2 separate regions of the Homo sapiens genome follow, and region 1 is linked to region 2. Evidence: promoter capture Hi-C in 16 types of primary human blood cells and fetal thymus (Javierre and others, 2016). All regions are on one chromosome and are shown on one strand. Each heading gives the region's core, a stretch centred on a gene start or on the middle of the fragment in contact. The rest is flanking DNA. Distances are from core to core; before and after follow the strand shown.

Region 1 (6,230 bases), core at 817-3,316, 60 kb before region 2:
CAGGTGTGAGCCACTGCGCCCAGCCTAATGTGACTGTCGTCAGTTAATTTTTCAGCAAACCTTCAGCAGAGGGAAAACTTCCCTTTGTTATTACATATAAAAGTTTTCCCTTCACCCCTACGATATGAAAAATAATGTAATTCTTCAGACACATGCCCATCAGAACTTTAATTCAACTCAATCTCTTAGCCAACCTGGTCCAAAAGTAGATATTTAATGTTATAAATAGAAAAAAAAATGCATTCTATAGCCTATGAAATGGGAAGACATTGAACAGGGGTTGCAATAGTTTAAAAGATTTTTATATAGTGTTGTTTTACTGGGAGCTTTAGATTGCTTTTCTTGTTTTCCTTGCAAATATACCAAATTGTGTTTCTGAAAATGCATTAGTTCTAATTAACATTTATTAACCAATAACATGAAGAACTTTGCTTTATAACCCAAAGAATGAGTTTCTGATTGTGTAGATTGCACAGTTTCTTTAAAATTTGGGCCAGACTTATGTCTTTTTCTCTCTGGATAATTTTAGCACACAAAAGATTTCAGTTATTCTATTGGCCTTACAGTTAGAGTAAGACACATTAAATCAACTTTTTTTGCGTGAGGATAATGGTGATATTTCTTACACAGAAAGGATTTTTAAAGTAAAATTTGGGCCGGGCGCGGTGGCTCATGCCTGTAATCCCAGCACTTTGGGAGGGCAAGGTGGGCAGATCACTTGAGGCCAGGAGTTTGAGACCAGCCTGGCCAACATGGTGAAACCCCATCTCTACTAAAACACAAAAATTAGCCGGGCGTGGTGGCGCACACCTGTAATCCCAGCTACTCGAGGGGCTGAGGCAGGTGGCAAGAGAATCGGTTAAACCCATGAGGCAGAGATTGCAGTGAGCCAAGATTGCGCCACTGCATTCCAGCCTGGCTGACAGAGTGAGACTCCGTCTCAAAAAAAAAAAGAAAAGTAAAATTTGATTCGTCATTCTTCCCTTTCCTTCCCCTTTTTCAGAGTTCCAAGTGCAACTGCTCGATATCTAGAGCAAAGAGAGGTCTTCTGATCAAGCTTCCTCACCCTTCATTTTTACCACCTCCACAAACCCTGTGTTTCAGGGATCATGACCACTGTCTCATCTTAATCTCCCCCAAATCAAGTATTCCTTTGCATTTTTCACTTGGTCACAAGGCATTTGTTCTTTCTTACGTTGGTAGACCTTTGCAATTATCAGAAATAATTTTCCCTTCTTTTCTACTCTTGCAATTAAGGTGTGCTGCCAATTGGTGGCAGTAATATGCCATGGTGTCCTCCCTACTGGATTTAAACCATTATTTTTCCTTTTTTTTTTTAATTTTTTTTCTTTTTGGAGACAGAGTCTCACTCTATTGCCCATGCTGGAGTGCAATGGCGCGATCTCAGCAAACTGCAACCTCCGCCTCCTGGGTTCAAGCAGTTCTCCTGCTTCAGCCTCCCGAATAGCTGAGATTACAGGTGACTGCCACCATGCCCGGCTAATTTTTGTATTTTTAGTAGAGACAGGGCTTCACCATGTTGGCCAGGCTGGTCTCAAACTCCTGACCTTAGGTGATCCGCCTGCCTCGGCCTCCCAAAGTGCTTGAATTACAGGCGTGAGCCACCGCGCCCAGCCTAAAAACACTATTCTTTCTACAACTGAGCAAGCAGCCAGGCCCAGTGACTCACACCTGTAATCACAGCACTTTAGGAGGTTGAGGCAGTCAGATCTTTTGAGGCCAGAAGTTCAAGACCAATCTGGGCAACATAGGGAGACCCCATCTGTATAAAAAATAAAAAATTAGCTGGGCAGGATGGCGCACACCTGTAGTCCCAGCTACTTGTGAGACTGAGATGGGAGGATCACTTAAGTGAGCCATGATCATGCCACTGCACTCCAGCCTGGGTGACACAGCAAGACCCTTTCTCAGATAGGCAGACAGACAGATGTATAACTAAATCAATAAATTCTGCCCCGTTCTTGGTAATAAGATGGTAAGAGGGATCCAGAATACCTTCCCTTTCAGAATCAGTAACCTGGTTATAGGCAAAACTCTATTCTCAAAAAGCAGAGGATCGGAATTGCTCAGATATTTTTTTAAAAAGAAATTTTGGCCAGGCGCGGTGGCTCACGCCTGTAATCCTTACCCAGAACTTTGAGAGGCCAAGGCGGTGCGGATCACAAGGTCAGGAGATCGAGACCGTCCTGGCTAACACGGTGAAACCCCGTCTCCACTAAAAATACAAAAAATTAGCTGGGCGTGGTGGCAGGCTCCTGTAGTCCCAAATACTTGGGAGGCTGAGGCAGGAGAATGGTGTGAACCCGGGAGGCGGAGCTTGCAGTGAGCCGAGATCATGCCACTGCACTCCGGGCTGGGTGACAGAGCGAGACTCCATCTCAAAAAAAAAAAAAAAAAAAACTCACAGGCAGAGGGCTGGAACTAGTGTGGGTAGGAGCTAAGAGTTATTATTATTTAGAGACTCAAGTGCCAGTAGAACAACCGTTTTCTTAGTCCAAGTTTCTTGATGTCCTTGGGATTCCACTTTATGGCTTATTTCAAAAGACCTGTATGAGGCCTGGACTACTTTGAGGAATCATCCTTTTTTTTTTTTTTTTAAAGTCGGAATCTTGCTGTGTTACCCAAACTGGAGTGCAGTGGCATGATCTTGGCTCACTGCAACCTCCGCCTCCCGGGTTCAAGCGATTATCCTGTCTCAGCCTCCCAAGTAGCTAGCATTACAGGTGCACACAACCACACCCAGCTAATTTTTGTATGTTTAGTAGAGACAGGGTTTCACCATATTGGCCAGGCTGGTCTCAAACTCCTAACCTCAGGTGATCTGCTGGCGTCGGCCTCCCAAAGTGTTGGGATTAGAGGCGTGAGCCACTGCACCCCGGCCTGGGAATCATTCTTGATAGAATAGCTATCTAAAACATTGTTTCCATATAGGCAGAAAAACCAGCCTCTAATTTTATTTTCTGTAAAAGAAATGCACAATGGCAACAAATTAAAGGATACAAAATAAATTGTAACATATCAAACAGGACAAAAAAACATAACGTTGAAAAGCAACCAAGCTTCATCCTAACTCTACCGCCAGGGCCACTGCCCAAGGACAACATCTTTTACATGTTTTTGTTTGTTTGGAATTACTTCAATATTTCTAAATATGCTCATTCAACTTTAAATAAAATCTAATGACTCCCTGCTACAAAGGATAAAGATTATGTTAATACCCACTGGTCCAATATTTAACAGTTGCATTAAGTTTGCGTCTTTTGTTGGTTTTCTTTGTAACTTTTTTTTTTTTTTTCCTTTTTGGAGACACGGTCTCCCTCTGTTGCCCAGGCTGGAGTACAGTGGCATGATCTTGGCTCACTGCAACTTCTTCCTCCCAGGTTCAAGCAATTCTCCTGCCTCAGCCTCCTGAGTAACTGAGATTACAGGTGTGGGCCACCATGCCCAGCTAATTTTTATATTTTTAGTGAAGACGGGGTTTCACCATGTTGGTCAGGCTTCTCTCAAACTGACCTCAGGTGGTCTGCCTGCCTCAGCCTCCCAAAGTGGTGGTATTACAGGCATGAGCCACCACGCTTCTTTGTAACTCTGAATAATACAAGATAAAACACTAGATAACATTTCAACTTTAGGTAGTATTACAACTCTCCACTATTAACACCACCATTCTTCCTTCACACCTTTTTCTCACCTCCCTTAAACACAAGAAGTCTTTTGTGTTTTGTCCATAGGTTGACACAGTTAATAGCCAACTTCCAGACTAAGGAGTGTGCTAGGATTACATCTTCTCTTTTACAGAACCACTGAACCACCGTGAAAACCACTAGAAAACCACTCAAAGGAAAATATAGAAAGCATCAGGATCAAATGGATTATCTTCCCTTATTAACAATTGCCCAAATATCTTTGCTTCATATTTAGATCACAAACGGGCTGGGCAGAGTGGCTCACGCCTGTAATCCTAGCACTTTGGGAGGCCGAGGTAGCAGATCACTTGAGCCTGAGAGTTCAAGACCAGCCTGGAAAACATGGTGAAATCCTGGTTCTCCAAAAATAAAATACAAAAAATTAGCTGGGCATGGTGGCACACACCTGTAGTCGCAGGTACTCAGGAGGCTAAGATGGGAGGATCTCCTGAGCCTGGGAATTCAAGGCTGCAGTAAGCCATGATAGCACAACTGTGCTTCAGCCTGGGTGACAGACGCCATCTCAAAAACAAAACAAAACAACAACAACAGAGAGCAAACTTCCCCGTCTCTACTAAAAATACAAAAATTAGCTGAGCGTGGTGGCAGGTGCCTGTAATCCCAGCTATTCAGGAGGCTGAGGCAGGACAATCACTTGAACCCAGGAGGCGGAGGTTGCAGTGAGCTGAGATCGCACTGTTGCACTCCAGCCTGGGTGACAAGAGCAAGACTGCGTCTCAAAAAAACAAAAACAAAAAAGCAAACTTGTATGGCTTTGTTTTTCCTGGAGTTTTAAATTACCCTTTTGCCTCCTGAATATTTTATCTAATTTATCATATCAAGTTTTTCCATTTACAGAGATGCTCTCTCTTTTGCCCCCTGGTACATACCCCTGAAGAACATTTGGCCTTCTGCTTCCATTTAATCTAATTGTTCTTTAGTTCTGCTGTACCACTGAGGACTTCCCTTTACTGCACTCCAAAGTTAGAGCCACTCTTTTCTAGTATCTATGTCTTCGATATGGTTTGGCTGTGTCCCCACTCAAATCTCATCTTGAATTGTAGCTCTCTCAATTCCCATGTGTTGTGGGAGAGACCTTGTGGGAGGTAATTGAATCATGAGGGGTGAGTCTTTCCTGTGCTATTCTCGAGATAGTGAATAAGTCTCATGAGATCCGATGGTTTTGTAAAGGGGAGTTTCCCCGCACAAGCTCTCTTCTCTTGTCTGCCACCGTGTAAGATGTGCCTTTCACTTCTGCCATGATCGTGAGGTCTCCTGCCACTTGGAACTATGAGTCCATTAAACCTCTTTCTTTTGTAAATTGCCCAGTCTCTGGTATGTCTTTTATCAGCAGTGTGAAAATGGACTAATACAGTAAATTGGTACCAGAAGAGTGGGGCACTGCTGAAAATATACCCAAAAATGTGGAAGCAACTTTGGAACTGGGAAACAGGCAGAGGTTGGAACAGTTTGGAGGGCTCAGAAGAAGACAGGAAAATGTGGGAAAGTTTGGAACTCCCTAGAGACTTGTTGAATGGCTTTGGCCAAAATGCTGATAATGATATGGACAATGAAATTCAGGCTGAGGTGGTCTCAGATGGAGACTAGGAACTTGTGGGAACTACAGCAAAGGTGACTCTTGTTACGTTTAAGCAAAGAGACTGGCAGCATTTTGTCCCTGCCCTAGAGATGTGTGGAACTTTGACTTGAGAGAGCTGATTTCGGGTATCTGGCAGAAGAAATTTCTAAGCAGCAAAGCATTCAAGAGGTGACTTGGGTGCTGTTAAAGGCATTCAGTTTTCAAAGGGAAACAAAGCATAAAACTTTAGAAAATTTGAAGCCTGGCAATGAGATAGAAAAGAAAATCCCATTTTCTAAAGAGAAATTCAAGCAGGCTGCAGAAATTTGTGGTGGCACATGCCTGTAGTTCCAGCTACTTTGGAAGCTGAGGCAGGAGAATCACTTGAACACAGGAGGCGGAGGTTGCAGTGAGCCAAGATTGCACCATTGCACTCCAGGGCAACAGAGAGAGTCTTCATCTCAAAAAAGAAAAAAAAAGGCACATCAGAGACCTTTGCAGCAGCCCCTCCCATCACAGGCCTGGAGGTGTCATGGGCCAGTCCCAGGGTCCCTCTGCTCTGTGCAGTCTAGAGACTTGGTACCCTGTGTCCCAGCCACTCCAGCCATGACTAAAAAGGGCCAAGGTACAGCTCAGGCTATGGCTTCAGAGGGTTCAAGCCCCAAGCGTTGGCAGCTTCCACATGCCGTTGAACCTGTGGGTGCACAGAAGTCAAGAATCGAGGAACCTCTGCCTAGATTTCAGAGGATGTATAGAAATGCCTGGATGTCCAGATAGAAGTTTGCTGCAGGGGTGGGGCACTCAGTGCTAGGGCAGTGCAGAAGGGAAATGTCAGGTGGGCACCCCCACACAGAGTCCCCACTGGTGCACTGCCTAGAGGAGCTGTGAGAAGAAGAGGGCCATCATCCTCCAGACCCCAGAATGCACCATGTGCCTGGAAAAGC
Region 2 (6,142 bases), core at 2,464-4,963:
GAATGCAATGGTGTGATCTCAGCTCACTGCAACCTCTGCTTCCTGGGTTCAAGTGACTCTCCTGCCTCAGCCTCCCGAATAGCTGGGATTACAGGCATGCACCACCATGCCCGGCTAATTTTTGTATTTTTACTACAGACGTGGTTTCACCATATTGGCTAGGCTGGTCTCGAACTCCTGACCTCAAGTGATCTGCCCACCTTGGTCTCCCAAAGTGCTGGGATTACAGACGTGAACCACTGTGCCGGCTGACATTTCACCTTATTTTTTAAGTTAAAGAAACAGTTCAGCTGCCTCGCTGTCATTTTCAAAAGAAACACTAGTTTGGTATCCACAAAAAATACTGGAAAGCAATATACATCTTAACCAAAGTTGTTTTGAGATGTACCTGTAGTGGATATTTTCTTTTTTCACCTGCCCATCACTATATGGTTTGTTCTGGTAAAAAGAATCTTGATTTTCTTTTGGAGGATGAACTCTCCCCTATTCTCTGTCTCTAGATTTTTTTTTTTTTTTTTTAGATGGAGTTTTGCTTTTGTTGCCCAGGCTGGAGTGCAATGGCATGATCTGGGCTCACTGCAACCTCCGCCTCCTGGGTTCAAGCGATTCTCATGCCTCTGCCTCCTGAGTAGCTGGGATTACAGGTATGTGGCACCACATCTGGCTAAATTTTTTTTTTTTTTGAGACGGAGTCTCGCTCTGTCATCCAGGCTGGAGTGCAGTGGTGTGATCTCGGCTCACTGCAAGCTCCACCTTCTGGGTTCACGCCGGTCTCCTGCCTCAGCCTCCTGAGTAGCTGGGACTACAGGCGCCCGCCACCATGCCTGGCTAATTTTTTTGGATTTTTTAGTAGAGATGGGGTTTCACCATGTTAGCCAGGATGGTCTCGATCTCTTGACCTCATGATCCGCCCGCCTTGGCCTCCCAAAGTGCTAGGATTACAGGCGTGAGGCACTGCACCCAGCCATAATTTTGTATTTTTAATAGAGACGGGTTTCTCCATGTTGGTCAGGCTGGTCTCGAACTCCTGACCTCAGGTGATCCGCCTGCCTTGGCCTCCCAAAGTGCTAGGATTACAGGCATGAGCTACTGCGCCTGGCCCTGTCTCTAGATTAAGGTATATGAGTTTGCTAATGAAACATAAGCTCAATATTTTATTGGAACTACTGGGAAATAAGTGCTCTGCTTCTTTTGGAATGGTTAGCTATAAAGATGATATAAGTTGAACACTGGGGAAAGGTGGGGAGGTGGCAAGAAATCACTATGTGAAAACAAACTCTTTGATGTCAACAAAGAGGAAAGGAGAGATCATGTCCTGATGTCAATGTTTGCATTCGTGAATCTAGTCATATCTGAAGTTACCTATCTATGGATTTTTCAGTTATTAAGCCAAATATACTCCTTTTCTTAAATCAGTCTGAGTTTAAGTTTTTGACACTTGTAAGGAAAAGCCCTATGTATCATAGCACAAAATAATTCCATTTATTAAACATCACAAAATGTCTAAAAATCCTCTTTCATATCTTTCTATACCTTGGTGTCACTCAGAATGTCAGCTGTGCTAAATCCCTAGTCTCACTCTCTCAAAACTCCCAGAAACCATCTCTCCTAGTCAGCTCATTCCAGGTCTTTTTTTCTTACTCCCTTACTCAAACTTTGCTGGTCGCCTTCCTTATCCCCACCCCATCCCACCTTCTCCAAAACAAAAAATCTGAGCCTTGCAGATCAGCCGAGCCTTCTGAGGCTCCTTTTGCTTCTTTACCTCTATTCCTTATTGAGATCAGCACAATTAATGCATGTCTGAACAACAAATGATCCTTTCTCTTTGGAAGGGTGAAAGTTTGGAAATATTTACATGTTAAATGTTCTGTTCTGGTCTCATTTGTATTCAGTACAAATAGTGTGTTTGCTTGGACATTAATTTTATTTGCAAATAGCTACAGCTGGGGGTCCCTTTGGGTAAGTCTTGCTAAGATACTGCATTGGTGGGTTTTTTGTTTATTTTGTTTTTGTTTTGTTTTTCAAGGGGATGGGGAAGGAATCAAAGTAGTCAAATCAGTTTGGTTGTTTTTACAAGCCCGAGAAATGGTCAAATTTTGGATTCAGACCAAGCACACCATAGTGTGCTAGAGGCAATTTAATGACTTCCTACCCTCTTGCCTTTTTCCCCCTCTTTGGGAACATTCTTGGATTTTCTACAGAAACAGCCAGAGGCTCTCAATTGACAATTGCCTCACTCAGCAGTTTCTTGTTAAGCACACTTGTCAGACACTGTTTCCAGGACTCTCTTAAGTGTCCTAAGAATATTGACTCATTCAAAAGCAGCCCAGCTGTAGTTGGGAGAGCACCAGCACTTGCTCTATAAAGATCTAGATTGTCTCTCTACCTCAAGAGGAATCCAAAATCCTGTTATGCTGGACTCTGAAATGATCCCCAGCCCTTTGGTGATCACACTGTTTATGAGCAGTCTGAATTCCATTCTTGGGTCTACCTAAACTAGCACCCTCGGGCTATGGGGCCCAGTGGGGAGACCACCTAGCATGCTGGCTGCCTGGAGCCCAGGGAACTGTCAAGATGGCTCTGGAAGACTTCTCGCCTTTTAAAAGCCCCGTATTTCTTTTACATATATTTTTGTCCTCATGAATTTTGCCAACCGCAATGGACTAAAATCTATTATAGCGTCCTGGAAAGGTGGGGAAAAGATGGGATAGTTGAGGAGAGTTTAATGAAGGGACTATTTAAAAAGGTGTGGATGGGGTTAAAGGAAACCTCTGGGCGTCATTACCCACTCCAGGCCTGAAGGGGCAAGGGTAGTTAGTGGTAACCAGAACCTGGAGAAAACTGCAGGAGAGGGCCACAGGATGGGAGTAATGGCTTTCAGATGAAGAACATAGCCACTGCTAACAGGGTGGCCCGCTGGGGATGCAGGGGAGGTCCTGAATCACATCCTGCCTTCTGATCTGCAGGTGCCTCCCACTTGCCAAAACCAATTGAAAGCCAGATTATAGTTGACGTAGCCCATAAAGGTCAGTCCTGAGTCACAGAGCAGAGTGGAGAGTGGGTCTGAAGGGACAGAGGAAAAACCAGCAAGCACCTCCTGTTTTTTCCCACAGCCAGCACCTTGGTTCAGCCCTTACCCTTTCTTGCCTGTCCCCTGGACCCATCAAATCCACTGCTTTTAATGACCAGTCTGTTTCCAAGAGGCTATATTCATTCCACTTGGGACTGGGGCATATGCACTTGGGTAGAAGAACCAGCTGTGCAGTGTCAAGACCCTTCCCTCAGAGACCTTATCAGTAAAATGGCGGGTGGACTCGGGGATGCCCGAAGACTTTTCCGGACCACGATTTTCCGATGCTGGACACATATTTAAACATGAAGGAATAGACTTGCGACTTTTAAGCGCAAACAATGGGTGGAAATGGACAGAAACTGCCTCCGTGCCCACTTGCAGCGGACTACGTAGCCCTGGCAGACAGGCAATTGCTTCAAACAAGCGCCCTCCAAGGGCGTAAGCTAGAGGGGCCCGGGCGGGCGCTTTCCCGTGGACCCTCCCACCTCGCGGGTAGAGGAAGTCCTTCAGTTCAGGCACAACCCTGAGCGTCCCCCGCAGTCTCCAACTCCGGCGCCAGTCAGGTTGTGGGGTGGGGGCGGCGGAGGGCGGAGAGCGCAGGCGCAGAGTCCGCGCGGCGGCGCCCCTCTCCCTCCGCAGTACTCCGGGCAGCGCCCGCCTCGATTTTCCCAGGCGAGGGCACGCCCGCGTCAGTCGCCTCCGGGGCACCTTCCTCGCCACGACACGCAGGTAACCGGGCCCCGGGAGCCGGTCGGCGGCGGCGGACTGGGACCTTGATCCTGCCTGCCCGGCCGCCCGACAAGGGAATGAGAGCGGACCCCGAACTCCACACACCCGCGTTTAGCCGCCACACCTAAGGGGCACAACAGTCTTTTTGGGTAAGGGCCGGGCTGGGGGCGACGCGCCCCGCCCGCTTTGCAGACTTCGGGGTGCTCTGCACGACGCCTGAAAGGCCGCGGGGCCCGCATTTCTCTGTGCTGCCCTCCTGGAGAACCGGGACACGGGGACGGGAGGGCCAGCATCGGCTACGGCCCGGTTTCCCGTTTCTTTCCGCTGTCGCGTGTCTGGGCCCTCCTGCAGCGTCCATGATGAAGGCCAGGGGCTGTTGCTTTCCTCTCGCCCAGTAGCCAACCCAAGCAAGGGGTGAGTCACTGTGGCGTCATATGGGATCAATTTCAAATACAAGTTTTAAAAAAGGCTGGATGATTTTAGAAATATGGCCAAGAATTTGTATTTTCCATTACTCTCTTGTCTCATGTCCATGACTCTTGAACGCCAGTCTGTGGGCGCTGAGATTTTCGTGGTACATCGACGGTTTGTAGACATCTTTTCCCAAGGGAAGACGAGGGCAAGGGTTAGTGGAGGAAGGGCCTCGTCACGGCCGAGAGTGGCGGAGAAGGCTCAGGGCAAGTCCGCACAGCCTCCAGCAGCCACGGGGAGGAAAAGGCGAATCTTTCCTCACAGTGCTCTGGGCGCTGTAGAATTTCTACGCCACGTGCACCCATTTGGCCTCATTTGAGAGGAGGAGAGGGAAGAAGGGTCGCGCGGGCCGGCAGGAAAGAGACTCGTGTTGCGGCGGATGAAGGCTCAGCGCGGACCTGCATCTCGGGCCAGGTTTTCTTTCACCCGGCTCCGCGAGGAGCGAGGCGGAAAGCTCGGGTCCGAGTGTTGATCGAGGACCTGGAGATAGTAACCCCCCACGTCCAGAGTGCTGGGGGTGGGTCCAGAGGGCTGGGGGTAGGTCCAGAGGGCTGGGGGTAGCTCCGGAGGAGCGATCTTCCTCCGCGGGAAAGGACTTGGCTCAGGCTTGCCTATGTCCGTGGTGCTGAAGTGCCTCGCGCGCCCTCGTCGACTGACTTCCTGGGCCGCGGCCTGCGTTGCCCTTCTACTCTGCACCTTTGCCAAAAATAGCCCATCTCCATGGCTGGTGGCCAGAGTGGAGCAGGCCCAACACTGAAACTCTTTTCAGACAAGTTGAGGCTGGTTTCCTGAACATAACCCGAAAGCAAATGTGGCTTGCCTTGGAGGTACAGATAAGCATATGCATAACAGATTTTATTACCTATGAGAAAGTACACACCATGAGCGTAAACAGGAATTCTCACATATACTTATGAAAGATACAGGTATGTGCATTTACGCACAAACCTAACACACATGCAAATACACTCATCCCTTTTGAAAACCATTACACACTACAAGCCACACATTTTTTAGAGCTTTTGTAATCCATCTTTATTTTTTGACACTTCTAGTAAATGTGAACTCTGCAGAGCCATTTATTTTCATAATCATCTGTTCCAAAGGCACAGAGCCTGTGGATTGAAGTGTTTGGTATTTGGCTGAGCAATTAAGTATTTATACTCATTTACATTCCAGAACAAAAGTCTAGGAAGATGTAAAATTGATATTGATACCAAAAAAATTCCTTAAAGAAAGCTTAAGGAAAATGAATTAATGTAAATTTTAATAAGAACAACATATAAATAATCATAGAAATTTATAATCTTAACATATGACTAAAATGTATCATAATGCAGACAATTTTAAATATATTGGTGGTATGTGGTTTGTGTGAAGTTCTTAAAGTTTACATTTGTATTTTTCAAAAACATTGGTATTGTTTTTTCCTTAAAAAATATATGCTCATTATAAGAATTTTAGGTAATAGAGAAATGCATAAACATAGAAAACCATTGTAAACAGATTTTCATTTAGATGAACATGCATACATTTTAAATGGACCAATCCTCTATTGGTTGCGTTTTTGCTATATAATTTATAATTAATGTCTTTCATCATAAAACTAGGTCATCATTATTAAGGGTTGCATAATATTGATCTGTGTGGATAGAATGTAAGTTTTTTAAACAATCCCATAATGAACATTTATGTCCAATTTTTTAGACTTAAAAAAATTATTGTGGAAAGAATATGTAACATGAGATCTATCCTCTGAACAAAAAAAAAATTTTTTTTTGAGACATTGTCTTGCTTGTTGCCCAGACTGGAGTGCAGTGACGTGCTCTCCGCTCACTGCAACCTCTGCCTCCCGGGTTCAAGGGATTC

The links. The method cuts DNA at HindIII sites, captures the fragments that hold promoters and counts their contacts. A CHiCAGO score of 5 or more calls a contact.
Region 1: a contact is called between a fragment that was not itself captured here and the fragment with the promoter of SLC35G2 in region 2, in 1 of 17 cell types (megakaryocytes). The highest score is 5.4, in megakaryocytes.

What each region holds. Positions count from the first base shown.
Region 1 is chr3:136,757,407-136,763,636 of GRCh38, forward strand. No RefSeq gene overlaps it. Among named protein-coding and RNA genes, the nearest start is that of STAG1-DT, 7.9 kb to the left of the region's middle. The HindIII fragment of the contact is 2,023 bases long and covers 1,056-3,078 here.
Region 2 is chr3:136,815,413-136,821,554 of GRCh38, forward strand. It overlaps SLC35G2 (solute carrier family 35 member G2), which reads left to right and starts at 3,714. Exons shown (of 2, transcript NM_025246.3): 1 at 3,714-4,216. RefSeq lists silencers at 3,739-3,798, 4,862-4,911. The HindIII fragment of the contact is 16,057 bases long and covers 1-5,510 here.